Regions from separate parts of the Homo sapiens genome. Here region 2 is linked to region 1. The links are contacts of gene promoters, found by promoter capture Hi-C in blood cells and fetal thymus (Javierre and others, 2016). All regions are on one chromosome and are shown on one strand. Each heading gives the region's core, a stretch centred on a gene start or on the middle of the fragment in contact. The rest is flanking DNA. Distances are from core to core; before and after follow the strand shown.

Evidence for each region. Contacts are between HindIII fragments. The CHiCAGO score rates a contact against its expected background, and 5 or more counts as called.
Region 2: a fragment that was not itself captured here is called in contact with the fragment with the promoter of STX19 in region 1 in 2 of 17 cell types (total CD8 T cells and activated CD4 T cells); the score reaches 5.5 in total CD8 T cells.

The regions. Positions count from the first base shown.
Region 1 is chr3:94,026,573-94,031,659 of GRCh38, reverse strand. STX19 (syntaxin 19) reads left to right here and starts at 3,063. Exons shown (of 2, transcript NM_001001850.3): 1 at 3,063-3,293. All of the region lies in intron 3 of ARL13B (ARF like GTPase 13B), which reads right to left. The HindIII fragment of the contact is 4,986 bases long and covers 2,789-5,087 here.
Region 2 is chr3:94,083,915-94,088,435 of GRCh38, reverse strand. NSUN3 (NOP2/Sun RNA methyltransferase 3) reads right to left here. Exons shown (of 6, transcript NM_022072.5): 3 at 3,986-4,329. Among named protein-coding and RNA genes, the nearest start is that of NSUN3, 23 kb to the right of the region's middle. The HindIII fragment of the contact is 570 bases long and covers 1,165-1,734 here.

The DNA.
Region 1 (5,087 bases), core at 1,814-4,313:
TTTTGAGAGGCATCATTATGAACTTATGGATTTAAAAATGTATTTGATGTGTTTCAATTTGTTGCAGTTATTGCTCTTTTTAAGGCTCAAAGGTACCCATTTTGAGGCAGCAGGAGTCCCCTTCAGGTTGGCTCTTGGACCCTTTTGGTACAACTCCAACAGTCTTTGATAGCTTCTTTATGTTCTACTATGAAACAAGGTTCCAGACTTGCAATCATCCATTTCCCCAAGAAGCCTTGATCTTTTCAGTGGAAAATGGCATTTTAAAGACTAAAACCTAGGAGTTATAGATAAACATTTGCTATTGACTTACTACTGCTTCTAGGCCCTTTCAGTGCACAAAGCTAGGAAATAGTTTTATTCTAGAAAAAAAAAAAATCTAACCATGTATTCGTGTTGATTTTTTCATTTCAAATCAACTACCAAGTTTTACTTAGCTTCTTAAATCTTGTTTTTGTTTATTTCTTTGAGACAGGGTCTCACTCTGTTGCCCAGGCTTAAGTGCAGAGGTGTGACAACAGCTCACTACAGCCTCTACCTCCCAGGCTTGAGCCATCCTCCCACCTCAGCCTCTCAAGTAGCTGGGACTACAGGCGCATACCACTATGCCCAGCTAGTGTTCGAACGTTCTTTTTTTAAAAAATTATTTTAGCAGAGATGGGGTTTCACTATGTTCCCCAGGCTGGTCTCAAACTCCTAGGCTCAATCCTCCTGCCTCAGCCTCCTAAAGTACTGGATTACAGGCATGAGCCACTGTGCCCAGCCTTAGATCTTATTTGTATCTCTTTTTACTTATGCTGAAAACTACAGTTTCTAATGACATTATTTGTTTTATCCAACTATATATAGGAATTTTAACATAATAATATCAATATGATTACTAAATATTAAGACTACTAAGTGCAGGTTAACATATCTTTGTGGTTACGTATCTTTGTCTCTACGCTATATCCCACTAGAGATGCAGAGTCAATAATACTGTTTTAAAATTACTTAAAATAGTACTTCTCTGTGTGGTTTTGCCATCACCTAGATATATACCTAGGTTCATTTCTTTCTAGGTGCTTTTGCATTTTAGAGATCGTTTGTGTATTTGTTTTAAGATTTAATTTCTAAAATATTTATATCGGCTGGACGTGGTGGCTCACACCTGTAATCTCAGCACTCTGGGAGGCCAATGTGGGTGGATCATTTGTCAGGGGTTCAAGACCAGCTTTGCCAACATGGTGAAACCCTGTCTTTACTAAAAAAAAAAAAAAAAAAAAATGAGCCAGGCGTGGTGGCGTGCACCTGTAATACCAGCTACTCGGGAGGCTGAGGCATGAGAATCGCTTGAACCCAGGAGGCAGAGGTTGCAGTGAGCCGAGATCGCGCCACTGCACTCCAGGCTGGGTGACAGAGTGAGACCCTGTCTCAAAAAATAAAAATAAAAAAATATTTATATGGTTCTAAATTCAGAACTATAAAAACAAGGTACAATCAGAAAGGAACTATTTGCTATCTCTCTGCCTTTTCCTTCCCTTCCCTTATAGGTAACCATTTTCATTCGTGTTTAGTTCATCCTCCCATTATTTCTTTTTGAAAATATAAACAAGCGTATGGAGAAAATGGTATTTCAAGGACCATAATTTGGGCACTGTGAATATTCAATGCTATTGACTGGTTTATGTATTTGTGTATATATACAATATTTATATCTACCCTTCCTTTCTTCCTAAAACTTAGCATATTATATATATTCTTCTGCAGCATGCTTGTTTTAACTGAACAGTAAATTTTGAAGTACCCTGAAGCAGTATAATAAAATCTTCACTATTTTCTATAATTGCAAAATGCTCCCCTTTGAATGTTCCATCATTTATTCAGCCAGTTCTACGCTGAAGGACTTTTGTGTTTCCAGTGTTTTGTTTTTACAAAGAGTGCTATAAAAAGTAGGTGTGTAAAGGAGTCATTTCTTATTTTGAGTACAGATTCCAGGAAGTAGAACTGTTAAAACAAAGAATAAATATAAATGTGATTGGCCGGGCATGGTGGTTCACATCTGTAATCCCAGAACTTTGGGAGGCTGAGGCAGGTGGATCACCTGAGGTCAGGAGTTCGAGACCAGCCTGGCAAACATGGTGAAACCCCATTTCTACAAAAAAATTAGCTGGGCGTGGTGGCAGGCAACTGTAATCCCAGCTACTTATGGGGCTCAGGCAGCAGAATTGCTTGAACCCGGGAGACGGAGGTTGCAGTGAGCCAAGATCGTGCCACTGCACTCCAGCCTGGGCTACAAGAGCAAGACTCCTTCTCAAAAAAAAAAAAAAATAAAAAAAAAATAAATATATATATATATATATATATATATATATATATGATTTTGATAGATACAGCAATTTCCTTCTTCTTGCCCTCAAATAGTAACAAGTCAGGTAGAAAAAATGGGTCTGAAATTTGGTAGTACAAGAGAAATTTTCATTTTTAATTCTTCCTATAAACATTTCCCTCTGGTATAAATTAATTTTGAGTTGTTATATTGACAAAATAAATGATTTAACATATATTGCTGGATAACTTTAGTTCTATATAAAATTTATTTTAAAATAAAAACAGCAGGCATAATAAAAAGTAAAAAAAATTAAAAGTAACGTGGGATGAATGGTTTACAGACATGAGCTCTTTCCTGGATGTTCTCCTTCTGAAATTCTATGATTTTGTGAGCTAAGCTCTTTTGGGATTTCCTAAAATAGGACAGATTTCAACCATTTTAAAGTAAATGGAACAAAAAAAGCTTTTACACCAAGCTTCTTTTCATTCCTATTTAATTCCATATTTTTAGTAAGTTTTGATATCTATAGAAAAGAAAGTAACCTTTGTTTAAATACAAACCCATTTTCTTGGAATAATATATTACATATACAATGTAGGACTAAATTTGCAGATCCAGTGCCAAATACTCTACGTAGGCAGTTTAACGAGGACTTCCTGTTACCGACTAGCTCCAATGAAAATGATCTTCCTTTAATCTAAAGAATAGGCGTCTAACAGGCAGAACCAGATTCTCCAGGTGTGAAGTAAGCAATCTATTTTCACTTGCTATTAACAGCAAACGTACAACTTTATCTCTTATTTGACTTCATTATTTGGCTTTCAAATTAACAACATGAAAACTATACAGAAATTAGTCTGTGCCCTATAAGACAGAGATTTAGATAATTTGTTCAAAACATGAGATGATATTCAGATATTCTCTCAAAGGCAGGACTCCAACACCGCAGGTGGAAAACCAACAAAAGGAAGAAAACAGAAAGGTAAATAATGACTCTTTTCTGTACTTTTTAATATGAGGTATCCATAGACTGACATCTGGTTACACTGTTACATTTAAAAATCACTCAACAAATAATGAGGGTTACTTGTTTTGCTCAGATTTGGACCGGGGTACCAGTAGCTGATTTGTTCACATATATTACTGACATGCTGACTGGGATCTGGGTATAAAGCTCTTGAAAATAGACTACGATAATAAAAATCAACTTTAGAGGAAAGAAAAAATTTTTAAGTCTTTTAAAAAGTAAGCTCTCATTTAAAAAATACTAGAAAGTCAGATGTAAAAACAGATCTAAAATTATTTCTTTTATAGACAGACTATGAATGTGCTTACTTTAGAGAACATTTTTATATTTCACTCTGAAAAGCAGCTTATACCCAAATTTGACACATACGTATAACCTTAAAAATCTGAAATAATTTGCTATAATGGTCTTAATTGCTTCATTGTTGTTTACTAGAATCTTCTAAAATTGAAAAAATGAGAAAATAATCTTGTGAAAGGGCTACCAGAAAATATCGAAGTACTCACTAACCTTTATAATATTTCAACTAGTACATTAAAAATACTTGTTATACCATTTAACGTAAGTGTTAGCATTTAATTGATAGTTTGAAAAATTTAAATCAGCATCATTTAAATACAACATATGTAGATAGGTTAGATACTTTCAAAGTTATAATTGTTACTATGTTAGAATTTAATAAATATTCCATTTCAAATCAAAATAATAATGACTTTTATATGTATTTTAAAGGTGGACTTGAGAATTGGCCACGTAATACCTCGAACACATTATCTTCACAGCTATGCAGTTTTAAATGTAATATAAAAATCATTTTATGTATGTACAGCTTACTTGAATCAGATAAAAGTTCAAAAATTATACATCATATTTAAACAAAAATGATCTTAATGTTGTTATACAAGTTAATTCAATAAGTTATTTAGACTAAATAAAATGTAGAAAAAAGCATTGAAAGTTTACATTGCAAAAAAAGTCAGATACTTCAAAATTAGACAATATATGCAATTTGCAATTTTTTTTTAGTTTTTAGAAACTACTATTTGGCCCTCACTTTAGTAGCCAAAGAGGTTAATATATTACAATAAGATCCTCTGCTTTCACTTGCACTAGAAAAATGTGGCAAGTTGACTTCATATACAAAAGCAACAGAATATTCTGTTTTCTCTTGGGTAAAAACTGGTCATATTTCTTGAAATGTTTTATTTAATCATTACAGTAACTATGAAAAGAAATGGCCTACTTTAAAAAAATCTATAAATACACTAAGTATCTATCCCAGGGCATATTTCTAAAAGTACAAGGTAATTTTTACTCATGTTTCTGTTTCTAGGGATTTTCAGTGTCTGTAATAGGGCAGAGAACCTTTTATTTGAGTCGCACCAGTTTACTTTTCTATTTCCCAGAACAAGTTGTCCAAGTTGATTATCATACATACGAGTTAGTGTTCTTTCTTTTTTAAATATCATGTTTAAGCTCACAGATACAGTTCTTGCTAGTAAAATTCAAAACTGTATAGCAATGCTGCAAGTTAAACATAATAAAAGATGATTCATATTTGTATATAACTCTTCCAACATAATAAATTTAAGGTACATAACAGACTGCATAAAATAGTAATTTCATCAATTTCACCTAGTCTAAGCAATTAAATGATTTCACAACTATGAGCTTCATATTTTATGCTTATATGAATCCTGTCCTTGCATGTTTTAAATTCTAACATGCTTATTTGTCTCATTTTGCCTA
Region 2 (4,521 bases), core at 200-2,699, 58 kb before region 1:
CATCAGTGATAGTCACAGTTCCTCAGAGCCCTAGGATTTTAGAAAGATTTATATATGAGGATATAACAAAAGTTGTTGGGAGAAAGTGAGAGAAAGAAAAAATAAATAAAAAACAAGATGTTGGAAGCAGAGACTACTAAAAAAAGTTTGAAAAGCAGAGGTTTAAGCAATGTGATTAACACAATCCTTAGCACATACAAAGTGTTACAAAATGGTTATTATTTTCATTCCCACAAAGAAGATGAACCTAATGCAGGGAGTTCAGAGAAGGCATTCCAGGAAAATTAAATCCTGAAGTATAATCTGAAGGATGAAAAGGAGCAGGGGAAGAGAAAGGAAAAAGAGACACCTGTAGAATGTGCAAAAAGGACTAGAGATGAAGAAGCAGGAAGGAGAGCAAAAGCAATTAAACCAAGAAAGGAGTCTTTTCAGTCTTCTCTACTAACCAGATATCAAAAAGTTATCACTATTGGGCTCAGTGGCTCACATCTGTAATCCCAGCATTTTGGGAGGTCAAGGCAGGCAGACTGCTTGAGCCCAGGAGTTCGAGGCCAGCCTGGGCAACATAGTGAAACCCCATCTCTACAAAAAATACAAAAATTAGCCAGGTTTGGTGGCATGTGCCCAGTCCCAGCTACCTGGGAGACCGAGGAGGGAGGATGACTTGAACCCAGGAAGTCAAGGCTGCAGTGAGCCAAGATCGCACCACTGCACTCCAGCCTGAGCAACAGAGCAAGACCTTGTCTCAAAAAACCAAAAAAGTTATCACTGACATCAAAGAGATTTTCATGCCTAGAGGGACATAGCCTTCAGCCAGAAAGTTGACTAAGACAATCTACCAAGCTGGGTCATCCTTAGTTAATATGCTAATGTTTTCCCATTTAGAATCCATATTGTTTGCTCTTTTTCTGCCAAGACCAGGACATTAAAAAGGCTATGTTGACAACAACCATGGTGAGTCCATCAATGTGGTAACAGGTGAGAGCAGCTGAACCAACAGAAAGTAGACTCTTTTTTTTAAATCATCCTAAAACATAAGCTTTGTAATCATTCAAAGCCATGAGCCTCTTGGCCCAGAATAAAGGTCAGTACTGATCTAAAGAAATTTGGTGTACAAATGCACATTTAGTGCAGCCATCATTTTACATTTTGCTTATAAAAGCTTTGATTAGTATTGCTTCTACATTCCAAATTCAAGCACTGTAGCTAACCTAACTTGGGCTTTAAGCATCAGCATGAAGACATCTGTACTTCTTAGTAAATCATTATCATTAGTCCTACTTAGATGAAAAGCTACTTTACTTGGAACACTGCCTGTAGTTCATTGCCCTTGATATAAGAACAGGAAGATTCTTCTCAACTTCAAACTGCTAGAATATATCAGTTTGCCTTTGGGTTCCTAATCAAATCAACTTTGCTACTATAAATGTGTAAAATATTTATAGCCTACTAATGAGGATAATTTAGAATTAAAATGCCCTCTCTTCAAAATGGTAACCAAATTTGACATTTCCCTTTCATCCTTTATAATACTAAAATTCCATATCCTGAATTAATTAGTATAAGCCTTTTAACTTATAAAAACAATGTCAAAGGACATAGAGTAGAAGTAAAAATAAGTGCTCCTTATAACATACAATTCCACAAAACTTCAGCTCAAATTATAAAAATAACGAGGTAAACTTGTAAAATAACATTTTTGCTGTGATTTCTTATTTTAAAATACAGCAAGCTTCAATAGCTGAGTTTTAACCAGAACTCTAAAACATTGGGCATATTTCCTCCTAAATATACAGTTAACTGATATATTTGTACCAATGCCTAGTACAACTGGATTCACGTTTCTCATAAAAGAATTTTAAATCTATTTCAACAGGGAATGCTCTCATATAAAAGTATAAAAGCAGTCTTCAAACTGGAACATACATGCCTTGGGGATACACACCAATGTTCTAAGGGACAGGAAGGCTTGGACAGTTTCAAAAGAATCCATTTTCAGATCATCAACTTCCTAAAGGAGGAGAACACTTCCAGTGGGGCATCTCCTTTCACAAGGTCCTTCACCAACTTTACAAATGACAAGCAAGCTTCCCACACATCTAGAATCTTATTATGGTAGAATGTGCCAGGGTATCGAAACCTCCAGAACATCAAACAAGGGCAGTTCAACACATCAGTGTTTTGGCTGAGGAAGTGAATAAGTCAGCCAGGCACAGTGGCTCACAGCACTTAGGGAGGCCCAGGTGGGCAGATCACTTGAGGTCAAGAGTTTGAGACCAGCCTGGCCAACATGGTGAAACCCCATCTCTATTAAAAATATAAAAATTAGCCAGGTATGGTGGTGGGCACCTGTAATCCCAGCTACTCGGGAGGCTGAGGCGGGAGAATCACTCGAACCTGGGAGGCAGAGGTTGGAGTGAGCTGATATCACGCCACTGCACTGCAGCCTGGGAGACACAGCGAGACTCCATCTCAAAAAAAAAAAAAAAGGCAACACTGCCTTTTGTAATTGAGATGGTGTCACGTCATTTGCTTTCAACAAAATTAAAAATGGACTTAAAGAGTGCTTACCTAATAGATCTTTAAAATAATGCTTGATGAAAGATCTGTATGTGATCTGAGGCTACAAATCAGGAGTGTGAAGAAACAGTAAAACAACTGTAACACAATTTTCTCTGGGACAGGATCTCACTCTGTTTCCCAGGCTGAAGTGGAGTGGTGCAATCTCAGCTCACTGTAATCTCTGCCTCCCAGGCTCAAGCAATCCTCCTACCTTAGCCTCCCGAGTAGCTGGGACTACAGACATGCACCACCATACCCAGGTAATTTTTTGAATCTTTTTGTACAGACAGGGTTTTCCCATGTTGCCCAGACTGGTCTAGAACTCCTGAGCTCAAGCGATCCGCCTGCCTTGGCTTCCCAAAGTGCTGGGATTACAGGCACGAGCCACCGCGCCCAGCCAACATTTCCATCTTCTTATCTGTGTGAACAGCACTGGCATCTATAAAAACAGAACCATCACACAAAAAACAGACAGAATTGATGCTGAACTCTGCCTCTTCTAGTAGTAGGTAATATTTATTCGGGGAAGCCTGTATCAGTTTTTTAAAAAAAGAATTAGCTTTAAAAGAAAAATTATTAAGAAAAAAATTGTAAATTTTGTAAATATTGTAAAAATTGTAAATGTTGACTTGTTACTTTTAACAAATATTTGTAAACCTGTGTATCACTTTGGTTCTAATAATAATATTAATGAAAAAGTCACTTGAAAAGACTTTTTGGATTGTCCAATACTATACCCTCTTCTCACATGTGGCTATGAACACCTGAAATGTGGCTAGTCTCAACTGAAATGTGATGTAACTGTAACGTAACCAATTTTAAAGACCTGTAAAAAAAAGAGAGAATGTAAAATATCTCATTATTTCTATTTTGATTACATATTGAAACAATATTTTGAATGTATTGGTTCAATGTATTATTCAAATTAATTTCACCTGCTTCTACTTTTTAAAATGGAACTACTTAAATATTTAAGGGTATATATATACTTCACATTATATTTCTACTGGAAAGAATTGCCTTGGAACCTTATAGTCTATTGACATCAAAAATTATTTTAAATGTATATGTTTTTGTTGCAGAAAAGTATGACAGGGATATCTACATAAGACTCTCAAGTATAAAGGTAAACAATAAAAAATACCTATCAGGCTTATCAGCATTCATATTATCTGACAGATTTGTATTTGCGAAATGTTGAAGTTTTGTTCCCAATCACCTGCTAGAATTAAATTGCTGAAAAAAATGTTATTTATACTGACTTCCTCAGCAAAAATTTCCATTCTTCTCCATAGCATCTCAGTTTTCAGGCTTCCTGAGTTTGCAAACTCAGTCTTACGTTTCTCCCCATATATACTTTCAGAATTCTCTATAACATACAGATATTAAAAAGTTGTCAAATACTGAAAGGAAAGCACACTACCTGGACAAGCACACTGCAGCAGAGCTATTGATTTCCCTCCAGGAGCAGCACAGAGATCCAGAACCTTCTCCCCATCCCTTAATTCCAGAGCCAACACTGGGAGAAGAGAAGCAGCATTTAGGAGATAATATTTTTTCAGGTTTCCAATTTGGTGTCTTTCTGAAGGGATTCGGCCCGGAGTTCTGCTAAGGTAACACTTCACTGATTTAGGATAGTTGGGTAAAGATCCCTGAGAGAGTGTGTGATAGCCCTTCAAATGTAAATCCTTTTCCAGTTCAAAAGGATAATTGAATCGGTTAAGCAGGACAGCATATTGCCAGCATGATGGAGATGTTAGTATCTCCCTAGAAATAGAAAAAGAGAAAATAAGAGAATATTAATATGATACATACCAATACAATTTTATATTACGAATCAGGTGAATGTGGTCCTAGTTTTACACTTCACTTACCTGTGATTTTAAGAGACAGGATCAGTATTCCTGACTCTTCCTTTTGCCTCATGAGCCTCTGACAGGACTGAATCCAGCATTGTTA